5 separate regions of the Homo sapiens genome follow, and all the other regions are linked to region 4. Evidence: promoter capture Hi-C in human tissues and cell types (Jung and others, 2019). All regions are on one chromosome and are shown on one strand. The core of a region is centred on a gene start or on the middle of the fragment in contact, and the rest is flanking DNA. Distances in the headings are between cores, read along the strand shown.

The links. Contacts are between HindIII fragments. The study calls those that stand out against the background at their distance.
Region 1: a fragment that was not itself captured here is called in contact with the fragment with the promoter of GALNT18 in region 4 in 1 of the 25 tissues and cell types used here (IMR-90 fibroblasts).
Region 2: a contact is called between a fragment that was not itself captured here and the fragment with the promoter of GALNT18 in region 4, in 1 of the 25 tissues and cell types used here (aorta).
Region 3: a fragment that was not itself captured here is called in contact with the fragment with the promoter of GALNT18 in region 4 in 2 of the 25 tissues and cell types used here (dorsolateral prefrontal cortex and mesenchymal stem cells).
Region 5: a contact is called between a fragment that was not itself captured here and the fragment with the promoter of GALNT18 in region 4, in 1 of the 25 tissues and cell types used here (aorta).

Annotation. Positions count from the first base shown.
Region 1 is chr11:11,080,371-11,083,070 of GRCh38, reverse strand. No RefSeq gene overlaps it. Among named protein-coding and RNA genes, the nearest start is that of LINC02752, 34 kb to the left of the region's middle. The HindIII fragment of the contact is 8,828 bases long and covers 1-2,700 here.
Region 2 is chr11:10,787,606-10,790,305 of GRCh38, reverse strand. No RefSeq gene overlaps it. Among named protein-coding and RNA genes, the nearest start is that of SNORD97, 13 kb to the left of the region's middle. The HindIII fragment of the contact is 7,576 bases long and covers 1-2,700 here.
Region 3 is chr11:11,103,655-11,106,658 of GRCh38, reverse strand. No RefSeq gene overlaps it. Among named protein-coding and RNA genes, the nearest start is that of LINC02752, 10 kb to the left of the region's middle. The HindIII fragment of the contact is 4,068 bases long and covers 1-3,004 here.
Region 4 is chr11:11,620,685-11,623,548 of GRCh38, reverse strand. GALNT18 (polypeptide N-acetylgalactosaminyltransferase 18) reads left to right here and starts at 1,544. Exons shown (of 11, transcript NM_198516.3): 1 at 1,544-2,190. The coding sequence starts at 1,956. RefSeq lists silencers at 1,242-1,601, 2,352-2,431, 2,452-2,521 and enhancers at 1,104-1,604, 1,722-1,801, 2,012-2,061, 2,802-2,864, 2,694-2,864. The HindIII fragment of the contact is 13,654 bases long and covers 1-2,864 here.
Region 5 is chr11:10,852,546-10,855,254 of GRCh38, reverse strand. It overlaps ZBED5 (zinc finger BED-type containing 5), which reads left to right. Exons shown (of 3, transcript NM_001143667.2): 3 at 169-2,549. The coding sequence starts at 310. The coding sequence ends at 2,391. Among named protein-coding and RNA genes, the nearest start is that of ZBED5, 4.2 kb to the left of the region's middle. The HindIII fragment of the contact is 3,978 bases long and covers 1-2,709 here.

The DNA of each region.
Region 1 (2,700 bases), core at 133-2,632, 540 kb after region 4:
AAAAATATAACAATGCAGCGGGGAAAAATTTTTAATGCATTGGTGAATCCACTCAAGATTTAAAATATCTGAAGAGGCCAGAGCAATAATCAATATGATGAGAGATTATAACAGAGCTGTCATACCAATTGAGAGATGTGATTTAGCAGCAGTACTCTTGGAAAAGAATCATGGGTCTTAGCTGACCATAAACTCAGAAGGAATTTGAGGTATGAAGAAGTTGTCAAGAAAGTGGCTGTGCTCTGAGGTAAGGAATCCAGAAATGAGAGAAGTGATAGCCCAGTACAAGGCATGAAGCTCAGACCCCTTCTAGAGTGATTTGCTTGGTACTTGAAATATGCTCAAAGAAGGGAAATCAAGGAAAGAAAAGGATAGAGGCCATATTATATGAGAAAGAGTTGAAAAAACTGGAGGTGTTCAGCCCAGGGAAGCCCCAGGGAATGTATTAGTTTGCTCAGACTAGATGTCTTAAAACAACTGAAATGTATGCTCTCCCCCCTCTGGAGGTCAGAAATCCAAAATCAGGATGTTCACAGGGCCATGATCCCTCCTTGTCCTTTCCTGCTTCTGGTAGCCCCCAGCATTCCATAGCTTCTGGCAGCATCACTCCAGTCTCTGCCTCCATCTTCACACGGTGTTGTCCCGTTGTGTATCTTCTGATAAGGATACCAGTGATACTTGATTAAAGGCCCACCCTATGCCAGTGTGGCTTCATTTTAACTAAGTGTATCTGCAGAGACCCTATTTCCAAGTGAAGTCATATTCTGAGGTACTGGGGGTTAGGACTTCGACATACCTTTTTGGATAACGCAATTCAACCCATACAAGAGGGCAAGAGAACCGTCTTCATGTATCCTAAGAACTGTCTTGTAAAAGATTTGATTTGTGTGGCCCAAAGGGCAGAGCTAAGAAGCAGGAATGCAAACTGTGGCTACTCAGGAAGAAGCACTTTCTAAGAGTGAAAGCTGCCTCCCTGTGGCTCCTGACTCTGAAGCTGCCCAGGAAGAGGCAAGTCGACCTGTGGCTCCTGACCTGAAGCTGCCCAGGAAGAGGCAAGTTGGTGGCATTGGGGGGCAGTCTCTCCCAGGAAGGGGATGGGGCTGCATGGCCTCATCTCACTCTGTTACTTGATTCTCTGGCACTCTGGCACGAGGGAACTATTTTTAACCAAGCAGAGATTTAAGTGGCTCTTTCCAAGAACCAGTATAAGTAGATGAGCTTCACGATAATGCAGACTGCTTATGAGAAATGGAGCATGAATTGCAGACCCAAGAAACGAATATAATTCAGCCTCTATTTTAATTTTTAATTGGAAAAAAAAAGCCCATCCCAGCCAGAAAGAACAGGGGAAGAGAGTACTTTGCACAGCGCTATAGAAAGAATTTGTTAGCTCTGCTGAAACAAATGGCATAGTCTTGTTGCTTCTGCCATCCCCACAATCAGGATAGGAAAGATTTCTACAGAGACTGCCGCTGCTGCCCGTCTCCATGGATAATGAAGGTCACGGTTTATGGGCACAAACTATTCTGCTCCAGACACAGCTTCATTGGTATGCAGGCATGAAAACCCAGCAGCCAGCCCCACACACTGATCAGATTTTGGAATTTAGTCATAATGTATACCTTCTCTCACTCCCTCCCATTTTCTCCAGACAGTTTTGCATTTAAATGGAGCAAGAGGACAATAGAAAGGAGTCAGGGAAAGAGAATTAGCATTTACTAGGCACCTACTGTGTGCCAGGCATTTGTTTCATTGAATTATTCAGGCTTTGATTCCACGTAAGATGGGGTCAGCATGTGTGCATGTGCGTGTGTGTATGTGTGCGTACACACGCTGACATATGTGTGACCTAGATGGAAAATGAAGGGAAAGGAAAGAGGTGGAGAGTGCTTACAAGATGGAAAGAGGAATAAGGGTGGAGGTCCTGGAGCAGCCTTTTGAGACAACGAGTTAGGCTGTTTCTCTGATGGCCAGGCAGGGAAGTTCCTGCTTCCAGCAAGGGTATCCAACCTGGACAGGACCCAAGGGTCAGGTCCAACCAGAGTCACAGGAATGCCTGAAATCAAGGCCTGAGATGAAAGAAAGCTGAAGAATTTGAGAGAATGTAAGGTTCCATCAGTCCTGGAAGGTCTTCCAAGGCAGCCAGACCTCAGCTGGACATTTAGGTGTCTCTGTTCAGGATCTTGCTGCATCCAGAGCCCGAACTTTGTAATTTTACCCATTTTACATTTACTGATTTTCTTGATTTACTCTGGAACCTCAGTAAAACTCTCCCCTTTCTGGCTCCAGCCCAGTGGTTCTGAGTCACTCAGGTATAAATGGATCACTGGGGAGACTGTTTATAGAGCAGATCCCCAAATCCCACCAGCAGAAAGAGACAGGTTCAGGGGGTTAAGAATGAAGCTTGACGATCTGAACTTTTAACAAGCACCTCAGGTAAACAGAGGAGCATGCTTTCAGAAATACTACTTCAGGTCATTTACGGCTTTGTTCGAAGAAAAAGAGGATGTGTCCGCCCATGTGCTAAAAAGGAGAAGATAAAAAAGTGTCCTTATGGCCAAGTGTGCTGGTGCATCAACAAGTGTGCTAAAGCAGCAACATTCTGGGAAGTTCAACAACCATTAGATTAGACAACCTCTCTGGGCTCTCCCTTTCCCTGTGCTGAAATTTTAGAGACACTCTTTTTTGTACCTAAAAATC
Region 2 (2,700 bases), core at 15-2,514, 830 kb after region 4:
ACCCTGTTTGTGCTACTTCATTACGGTAGTCCTAGAAACTAATACATTGCCCCCAACCCCAGTACCATCACTTCCATCCAGGGCCACCGTGCCCTCTAGCTCTGTCCCTTCCTCTCTCCTCCCCTGAACCCACCAGCTGCTTCACAACTCAGCTAGGTACAGAAAGGTGAGGGAAGAGCTTGGACGAACCAGTAAATAAAATGAGTGAATGAATGAGCAGTGGAGCTCTATTTTGTTCTGAGAAAAATTCTTTGAAGAAAATTAGTAATCTACTTTAGTACTAAAAAATTAGAAAATAAGCCAAAAGAAAAGATATAAAGCTAAGCCTATTAAAATTTTTCATAATTTGGGGTGAGGTGACTTTTCTTTTCTTTGCTTTGCTTCTTTTTTTTTTTTTTTTTTTTTTTTTTTTTTTTAGAGTCTCCCTCTTTCTTCTAGGCTGGAGTGCAATGGCATGATCTCGGCTCACTGCAACCTCCACCTCCCGGGTTCAAGCAATTCTCCCTGCCTCAGCCTCCCGAGTAGCTGGGATTACAGGCGCCTGCCACAACGCCCGGCCAATTTTTGTATTTTTTAGTAGAGACAGGGTTTTGCCATGTTGGTCAGGCTGGTCTTGAACTCCTGACCTCAGGTGATCTGCCCGCCTCAGCCTCCCAAAGTGCTGGGATTACAGGCGTGAGTCACCGTGCCCGGCCTAGGGTGACGTGACTTTTCTAAGCACGTTACTCGGGAAAGTTCCAGATTCTGTAGGGCCTGAAGTTTACATAATTTGGCAGGGGTGGTGGAGGTCTCTTTAGGAAAAAGAAAACAAAATCACAAATGAAAAATTAGGTGCAGCCTTGGAAGAGGCCCAGGCAAGTGAGGGACCCTGATGCCTAAGCTTTAACTTCATGGAACATCTATCTCTTTGTGAAAAAAATATACATATCCAGAAACGATGAAGGGAAATGTTGACAGATTTGCCTATTAATCTGTCCCAAAATGTTATAAAGGATAAATTAAAATATTTGCATGTGCACAATCAAGGGTTAACCACAAAAAGCTCTTTAAAAAATCAGTGGGAAAAAAAGACTAACCTTTTTGAACTCTGACTATATTATTCTCAGAATAGTCCTGGGATGTAGACATTGTTATCCCAATTTAAACAGTAGGAAATTGAAGCTGAGGGGGATGGAGCCATTGTTCAAAGTCACATCATTTGTCAGAGGAAGAGCTAGGATTTAGAGTTCGAATAACTCTAAAGTCCGCATGTTTTCTATTACACGGCAGTCAAAATTGGAGCTGATTTCCAAAGATGGGGAAAATAAAACAAAATGTGGCAAACTATAAATACCTGCAGGTTTTGTTTTGTTTTGCTTTTGTTTTGTTTGAAGACAGGGTCTCATTCTGTCGCTCAGGCTGGAGAGCAGTGGCACAATCTCAGCTTACTGAAGCCTCAACCTCTTGGGGTCAAATGATTCTCCTACCTCAGCCTCTCAAGTTGCTGGGACTACAGGTGGGCCACCATGCCCGGCTAATTTTTTGTAGAGACAGGGTTTCACCATGTTGCCTAGGGTGGTCTGGAACTCCTGGGCTCAAGTGATCCACCTCCCTCAGATTCCCAAAGTGCTGGGATTAGAGGCGTGTTTCACTGTGCCTAGCCAATACCTGCAGTTTTTATCCTCTTGAAAAAAAGCCTGACATTTTCGCTCTAACAATTTTTTCTTCTTCTTTTTTTTTTTTGTAGAGAAACATCTTCACTATGTTGAGTCTTCCAGTCCATGAACATGATATATCTCTTAATTTAAGACTTTCTTTTTTTTTTTTTTTTTTGAGACAGGGTCTCACTTTGTCACCCAGGCTGTAGTGCAGTGGTGCCATCTCAGCTCACCGCAACCTCTGCTTCCCAGGCTCAAGTGATCCTCCTGCCTCAGCCCCCAAGTAGCTGGGACTACAGGCACACGCCACCACATCTGGCTAACTTTTTGTATTCTTTGTAGAGATGGGATTTCGCCATGTTACCCAGGCTGGTCTTGAACTCCTGAGCTCAAGCGATCCTCCCACCTCGACCTCCCAAAATGCTGGGATTACAGGTGTGAGCCACTGTGCCCAGCCTGAGTCTTCTTTGATATTGTTTTCATCATTGTGTAATTTTTAGAATACATATCTTATACATGTGTTGTTAGTTTTGTTTATGTTTTTTACTTTTATTACTTTTAATTGACACACGATAATTGCCTGACAATTTCCAATTACATGAGGCCCTGTCAATTACATTTGTTTGGACAATAATCTACAGTTTGGGGATGACACATTAACCTGAAGTGATCCCAATCAATAGCTAGTTTTTGATGTTTATGGAGGCCTTCGAGAGGCTTGGTGTCAAAGAAATTGAATACAGACTTAATTGTTATTCCTGGGGACACGGTTGTAAAATCTCAAGAGTTTGCAAAAGTTATAAACAAGCATTTTAAAGATTGCTTTAAAAAGTGGTACATTAGCCTGGGCACAGTGGCTCAAGCCTGAAATCTCACTGCTTTGGGAGGCTGAGGCAGGAGATCACTTGAAGCCAGGGGTTTGAGACCAGCCTGGGCAACACGGTGAGACCCTGTCTCTCCAAAAATTTTAAAAATTAGCCAGGCACAATGCTGTATTCCTGTAGTCCTAGCTGGTAGGGAGGGGAGGCAGGAGGATTGCTTGAGCCCAGGAGGTCGAAGCTGC
Region 3 (3,004 bases), core at 190-2,689, 520 kb after region 4:
CTGATTAGTGAAGAAAGGGCAGTTGCCATAGAGAAAGAGTTTAATACATGTAGAGCCAGCTAAACAGGAGACTGGAACTTTATTATTACTCAAATCAGCCTATCTGAAAATTCAGAGGCTAGGATTTTTTTAAGATAGTTTTTTGTGTGTGTTTTTTTTTTTAAGAAGGCAGGGGGCTAGGAAACAGGGGGCTATTTTTTTTTAAGATGGATTTTTTTAAGAAGGCAGGGTGGGGAATGCTGATTGGCAGGGATGAGCTCAATTGGTTCCTGGGTGGAAGCTGTAAGAACAGACAAGCCTGCTTACCAGTCTGGGTGGTGCCAGCTGACCCACCAGAATGCAGGGTCCGAAAAATATCTCAAACACCAATCTTAGGTTTTACAAAAGTAATATTACCCAGATGAGCAATTGGGAAGATTAAGAATCTTGTAGCCTCTGGTTGCATGGCTGCTAATCCATAATTTCTAATATTGTGGCTAATTTGTTAGTTTTACAAAAGCAGTCTTCCTCCCTCCAGGTAAGAAGGAGTTTATTTCAAGGAGAGACTGTTAACATCTTTGTTTCAAAGTTAACCTGTAAACTAAATTCCTCCCAAAGTTACTTCGGCCTACACCCAGAAATGACCAAGGGCAGCTTGGAAGTTAAAGGCAAGATGGAGTCAGTAAGGTCAGATCTCTTTCACTGTCATAATAATTTTTGCAAAGGCTGTTTCAATTCAAGCCAGTATACTGCCATGCCTCATTTCATGCCCTCTTCTTGATGCAAGGAAGGCAAGCCCCAAAGTGGAGCTTAGCCTCTGAGTGTTCTTGGCTTTTCCCAGGAAATAATTCAAGGGCAAGCTAGAGGCAGAAGAAAATAGCTCTATTGAACAGACAGTGTTACAGCTCCAATGGTGTTACAGCTCTGTGCTCCTGCAGAGCAGAGCTACCCCATAGACAGAGAGTAGCAGCTCAGTACAGTTCTGCAGTCACATTTATACCCACTTTTAATTGCATACAGATTCAGAGGCAGTTTATGCAAAAATTTTTAGGGAAAGAGTATTAACTTTTGGGTAACTGGGACATTGCCATGGAAAGGGGTGGTAACTCCCCGGTGTTGCCATGGCAACAGTAAATAGATGTGGCATACTGGTTGGCATGTCTGATTGAAAGCTGCTTCCATCCTGGCCCTGTTTTAGCTAGTCTTCAATCTGGCCCAGTGTATGAGCCCCACCTCTGGAGTCAAGTCCTGCTTCCTACCTCAGTCTCATCAGAGGACCTCTCCTCTTATCCCACAGAGAATTCCAAGCCATCCAGACCACATTCATTTCTTGTCATCTTCAAACTTACCTGCATCTGCATTTATCTCTTCTTCTTCCTTCTCTCCTCAATGAAAGAGGTGACCCTCCTCCCATCTAAATCCAATGACTTGAAGCTCCACGTTCAATATCCTTCAATGGCTCCCTACAAATCTCCAGAATAAGGTTCAAACTCTGTCTCCCTGGTTCCTGACTGCTTTTCTTGCCCTTCACCCACTGTTCCTCCCTAAGCCCTCCTCCTGCAGCCCTTGCACTCATTTGGAGCTTATCAGGTCCTACCAATTTATTGGAAGTCCCTCAAGTGTGGCATGTTATTTCCTATCCCCAATAATTGCAAATTCTGTTTCTTCTACCAGGAATGTCTTCTGGTTAATTGCTACTTTTCCTGTAAAACTCAATTCTACTTTAATCTCCTCAGATTTTTTTTTTATCATCCTTCTAGCAATATGCCTTGGTACCCTTTCCATATACTATTACCAGTAATATCTGAAATAACTCTCAGTGCTTTCCATGTGTCTATGCTAAGTACCTAACCTGCTTAACCTCATTTAATCCTCATAATAACCCTCTGAAGAAAAGTTATTATTATCCCTCTTTTACAGTGGGGAAACTGAGGTTCAGAGACTTATAAAAAGTAACTTATAAAAAGTAAATCTCTGCTGGTATGTCTGTTTCTACCTGCTGCTCTTGGTAAAGGCAATGAGGTCTCTTCAGTCAGGGGCCGTGCCTTTCCTCTTTGTATACTCCCAGTGCAGACCACAGGGCCATGCATGTTAGCTTCCACAGTGAGCAAGAGTATCTACTCACCTCGGCTGCCATAATAAAATATCATAGACTGAGTGGCTCAAACAACAGAAATTTATTTCCTCACAGTTCTGGAGGCTGGAAAGTCTGTCCAAGATCAAAGTTTCAGTGGGATTTAGTTTCTGATGAGAGCTCTCTACCTAGGTCGCTGATGACCATCTTCTTGCTGTGTCCTCATGTGGCAAAAACAGATAGATCTCTGGTGTCTCTTCCTCTTCCATAAAGACATCAGTTCTGTTACATCAAGGCCCCACCTTACAACCTCATTTAACTTTAATCACCTCCTTCAAGGTGCTGTCTCCAATACAGTCACAGGGTGGCTTAGGGCTTCAATGTGAATTTGAAGGGGATGCACATTCCATTTACAGCAATGAGCTACAACTGCTCCACTGTTTCAGGGACTCTGAGGCACAAATCTGCCAGGAGTGGAGGAGTATCTTAGATCTTCTAAGGTATTGGAAGTACCTGGGACGATCCAGGAAAACATCACAGAGAAGGGGTATTGATGGACACTTAGACTATTGAAGGAAGCTAAAATACTTTACCCCAAAATATACTTCTTTGACATATTTCAAGATGCGTTATTCAGAAATGCTGGAAACACAGAATAGCTAAAAAGCTGCCTTTCATGGAGATTTGTCTGCTTTTCACATATATAAGCATTGGACCCTGGAAACTGCAAATGCTGTGTTGGCAGTATTTGTTAATGGGCTCCATCCTGAGCTCAGTGTTCCACCTGGAAAACAGACTAAATTAGAAGCTACCTATCTAAATGAAATTGGCCTGCTTATAAAATACTGTGGTGAATCCCTACAATGCTATGTTACCTTGGTTATCTATTTATCTTCCTCTAACATAACCAAACTCCTTCTTTAGAAAGCCTATGCTCTCTGTGCTTTGAAG
Region 4 (2,864 bases), core at 295-2,794:
TTCTCTACCTTGATTTTTTCAGAAATTGTGTACATTCTCTCCTCTCATGTATGTATCTCCTACATACCATACACACGATTCTTCTCCCCCTTCTATACCCCAGCCCACGCCAACCCACACCCACTGTTCTCTCTTCCAGCTATGGATCAAGGGAAATCTTCCCGGGTCCCTAGTTGGTATCTGTTTTCATAGCATCTTTGGGGAGGTTTTGTAAACAAAGCATTGGTAGAAGGGCCCTTGGCTGATGGGGCCATAAAGTGCCCTTTCTTTGGTTTTGTGCTCTCCCTCTCTTGTGGGGCCAGTCATTTGAATCCAGAAGATATCCCAGGATGGAGCTGCCCTGAGTATTTCTGTGGCTGGTTGGAAGGCTGGCACACAACAAAGTGGGCATGCAGCAGGCTGCCTCCCTGGCTTAGGCCAAAAAAATAAAGCAACTCAGAGATGGAGAAGAGGCAGGAAATCTATGTTGTAAAAAGTCTTTGTTTAAAGGAATTCCGTTCAGGTGCTGAGAACGGGGTGTTCAGCAGAAGAGGATAATATGAGTAAACATTGGCAGTAAGAACAAACACAGCAGTATCACTGTCTGCGTCTGGCCTCCTCCTGTGCTCAGTCACAGGTCTCTCCCACCGCCCTCTATGATAGCAATCATAAACAACATGTAGAAGGGCTTTACAGTTCACAGACCTCAGTTCCCCTCAGCGGCACTTCCTTGCAGGGTTTCTTTATGCACTGGATGACCCTGGTTCCACATAAATGAAAACTGGGCTTAAAGGACACATCCATGTCCTGGGAGCTGTACAGACTTAAAGAAAAACCTAGATAGGGGCAAAAATTGGGGCAGGCGGTGGGGGTGGGGGGTGGGGGGTGGGGGGGGGGAAGAAGTGGTCGAGAGAGTCATCTAATAGGTCACCAATGTTGCTTCTGGGAGGTTGCCGGAGGGTTGGCTCCTTTCAGCCAGGTTTAGGGCCAGGTCTGGACACACTCAGGAGGCCGGTGGCTGAAGGGCAGAGGGCAGGGTGGAGGCCCAAGTGAGGCCAAGGAAGGAGTGGATGCCGCTGGGGCTGGCACTTCCTTGGCTTCTCAGCGTCCTGGCAACCAAGAAAAGATTCCAGGAGTCGACTGGTGGCACCAATGCGAGAAGCCCCGGGCGGATGAAAGAAGCTGACCCGTGCGAACCCCCCACCCCCTCCACAAAACCAGGAGATTCCTGCCCAAGAGCAAGAGATGGAATTCCCCTAACGGAGGAAGCTGCCGACCTAAGGGCTGGGACTGGCAGCGCGCCCTCTCCGGGAGCTTCAGGTCTGGGGCAGCCTGTGCAGGCGCGGGTGGAGGCCCGGGCGCGTCCCTGGGGGCGGGAGCCAGGGGCGGCCAGCAGGTGGGGCCTGGGAGCTGGACTCCGCCCCCCGCTCCCTCCCCGTTGGTCCGCTGCCGCTCAGCACCGGCCCCTCTCCCGAGCCGGAGCGCGATTGGTGGCAGCGCTTGTCGCTCGGAGGGGGCCGGGCCGCTCTGCTTCGCGGCTCTCCCCGCCGCCGCTGCCGCTGCCGCTGTTCTCCTAGCAGCGCGGGCCGGTCGGACCGCCAAGGCAGCCGGCGCTGGCGATGGGAAGCGGCGTGGCCGCCGACACAGGCAGTGGCAAAGTTTCCCAGACGTACACATCTGGACGCGCGGCTGCCGGCTACCCGTGACCCCTCTAGGAAGGGTTCAGGGATTTTTAATTTGGAAAAAAATCCACCTGGTTTCCTTTGTCAAGGTCTCTCCGGGTGGCCAGCGGCAGGAGCTGCAAACTTGGGCACGGCGGCTACACCGGCAGCGGACCGGGCTTTGGAGAACCTCGGGACTCAGGTGCTGAGGTGCCCAGCGGCTCCGGACGTGCTACGGGGTGCGAGCGCGGGGGAGTTCGGGGCGCACGACAAGGAAGGGCCCCCGGGAGCTCTATATGGAGGAAGGAGCCCAGAATGGTGTGCACCAGGAAGACCAAAACTTTGGTGTCCACTTGCGTGATCCTGAGCGGCATGACTAACATCATCTGCCTGCTCTACGTGGGCTGGGTCACCAACTACATCGCCAGCGTGTATGTGCGGGGGCAGGAGCCGGCGCCCGACAAGAAGCTGGAGGAAGACAAAGGGGACACTCTGAAGATTATTGAGCGGCTGGACCACCTGGAGAATGTCATCAAGCAGCACATTCAAGGTACGGGCGCCCCGGAAACTTGGGTCGCCCATGAGGCCCGGGAGTGCCCCGCGCGGCGCGGGGTGCGCTGGGGCTGGTGCGCATCAACTCAGCCACGGCGGGGCTCTGGGGCCGCAGATGCGTGGTAGTCGTGGGGCCTGCGTGTGAGCTCCTGCCTGCGTTCGGGACCTTCTGTCTGCGGCCGTGCGCTCTTCCCCGGGGCACACGTGTGTGCGCAGGGCTGCACGAGCGGATGTGTGCAGCTAGCTGGCGGTATGGGGGCGCGCTGCGCACGTGTCCAAATGTGCGTGTGACTCTGGGCTGGTTGCTCGCGGGCTCTCGGGATCGCACACAAGTCCGGCTCAGAGTGTGTGTGCATGTGAATGTCTGTGTGTGTACAAGAGGGAACGCGCGGGCAAACGAGCTTTTTTGGCCACTGTAGGCGTCAGGCGAGATGCCCGCGCGGCGGCCCTGACTATTGGCAGTTAAGACCCGCAGGCTGCCGGACAAGCGAGGCTAGGAAAATTGCGTTGTATCAGCCCCAGCCCCAGTCTTGCTGTGATCCCGTTGGTAGGCGATAGGGAATGCAAGGAGCCCTCTGTGGTTGAAAAGCCGCTTGAACCTATAGCAGTCCCTACCCCCACCACAGCCCGCGGGTCCAGGACCCTCTCCAGGAGCAGGTGTCAACGCCGGGA
Region 5 (2,709 bases), core at 150-2,649, 770 kb after region 4:
TTATAGAATATTAATATTCTCTAAGTTAATAAATGTTTTGAGAAAATGATTGATGCTAATATTGGTTTTTCTTTATGGTTGATTTTAATATGTTTATTTAAATATGAGATTAAGACTGCTAAACTCATTTCTATAGCTTTTATTTTTATGTGATAATCTACCTTTAAGAAAAGGTGTACCATACCTGAGAGCACCAGGAAGTCGCATGAGAGATCACCTGATACATGAACGTATGATGTTCCATCTGCGCATTGATGAATAGGCAGCATTTACAAATTAACTGATGTGTTGCTGTATATCATCTCTTTGATGATTGCTCCTCTTCTTTGTATCCTGTCTTATAATTTCAACACATTTGCGATACTCAATGTCTATTCTAAATTAACCATGTTTTGTACCACAAACTCATTGCCCATGGATCTGTTGCTGAAACAAGGAAGTCTTAAACAAGAAGTGGAATCTTTCTGTTATCAGATTGTGTCTGAATCAAATGATCAGAAGGTTGGAATATTACAAAGTGAAGATAAGCAGTTGCAACCTTCAGTTTCTAAAAAATCAGAAGGTGAGCTTTCCAGGGTCAAATTTATATCCAATTCCAACAAAATAACATTTAGTAAAAAACCAAAAAGAAGAAAATATGATGAAAGTTATTTGTCTTTTGGATTTACTTACTTCGGAAATAGAGATGCACCTCATGCTCAGTGTGTATTATGTAAGAAAATTTTATCAAATAGCTCTTTAGCCCCTAGTAAGCTTCGAAGACATTTGGAAACTAAACATGCTGCATATAAAGACAAAGACATAAGCTTTTTCAAGCAACATCTCGATTCACCTGAAAATAATAAACCCCCAACACCTAAAATTGTGAATACAGATAATGAAAGTGCTACAGAAGCATCATACAATGTAAGTTACCATATAGCGCTGAGTGGAGAGGCTCATACTATTGGAGAATTGCTTATCAAACCTTGTGCAAAAGATGTAGTGATGCGGATGTTTGATGAACAATATAGTAAAAAAATAGATGCAGTACAGCTATCAAACAGTACTGTTGCACGTCGAATTAAGGATCTAGCTGCTGACATTGAAGAAGAGCTTGTTTGTAGACTGAAAATTTGCGATGGGTTTTCACTGCAACTAGATGAATCAGCTGATGTTTCAGGACTTGCTGTGCTGCTTGTGTTTGTTCGTTATAGGTTTAATAAGTCTATTGAGGAAGACCTACTCCTGTGTGAATCTTTGCAAAGTAATGCTACCGGTGAAGAAATATTCAACTGTATCAACAGTTTTATGCAGAAACATGAAATTGAATGGGAAAAATGTGTTGATGTTTGTAGTGATGCTTCTAGGGCAGTGGATGGGAAAATTGCCGAAGCTGTCACCTTAATAAAATATGTGGCTCCCGAAAGCACCAGTAGTCACTGCCTATTATACAGACATGCACTGGCAGTTAAAATAATGCCTACATCTCTAAAAAATGTGCTAGACCAGGCAGTACAAATCATCAATTATATTAAAGCTCGACCACATCAATCCAGACTATTAAAAATTTTATGTGAGGAAATGGGTGCTCAGCACACAGCACTTCTTCTAAATACAGAGGTGAGGTGGCTTTCTCGAGGTAAAGTTCTTGTAAGACTTTTTGAACTTCGTCGTGAACTTTTGGTTTTCATGGATTCTGCTTTTCGACTATCTGATTGTTTAACAAATTCATCTTGGCTGCTAAGACTTGCATATCTTGCAGATATTTTTACTAAATTAAATGAAGTTAATTTGTCAATGCAAGGAAAAAATGTGACCGTTTTTACAGTATTTGATAAAATGTCGTCATTGTTAAGAAAATTGGAATTTTGGGCCTCATCTGTAGAAGAAGAAAACTTTGATTGTTTTCCTACACTCAGTGATTTTTTGACTGAAATTAATTCTACAGTTGATAAAGATATTTGCAGTGCCATTGTGCAGCACCTAAGGGGTTTGCGCGCTACTCTGTTAAAATACTTTCCTGTAACAAATGACAATAATGCTTGGGTTAGAAATCCATTTACAGTTACTGTTAAACCAGCTTCATTAGTAGCACGGGACTATGAGAGCCTGATTGATTTAACATCTGATTCTCAAGTGAAGCAAAATTTTAGTGAACTTTCACTAAATGATTTTTGGAGTAGCCTAATTCAGGAATACCCAAGCATTGCAAGGCGTGCAGTGCGTGTACTTCTTCCTTTTGCTACAATGCACCTGTGTGAAACGGGGTTTTCATATTACGCTGCAACAAAAACAAAATATAGGAAAAGACTTGATGCTGCACCTCATATGCGAATCCGACTTAGCAATATTACACCTAATATTAAGCGGATATGTGATAAAAAGACACAAAAACACTGTTCTCATTAAAATTGGAGGAGTTTGCATGTCTCATGATAACCAAATGTAAGATGAAAATAAAAGATGATTTACTTCATCTCTGGTATTTGGGGGATTTAAATAAAATGATTCCATTTTTTTATACTATTTAGATTTTAAGAAGGCTAAAGAATCAAACGTTTTAAACATATTGTGTTATTATTGGTATTTCTTTACATTGTAATTTTAAAGAGTTCCATGATCATAACTGGGAAATAATGATCCCCAAGATAAAGTCCCAGTCCCTTAACATATCTCTTCAGGATCTAATCCCTACCAATCTTTCCGTGTCTACTCTGCAGCTCTCCA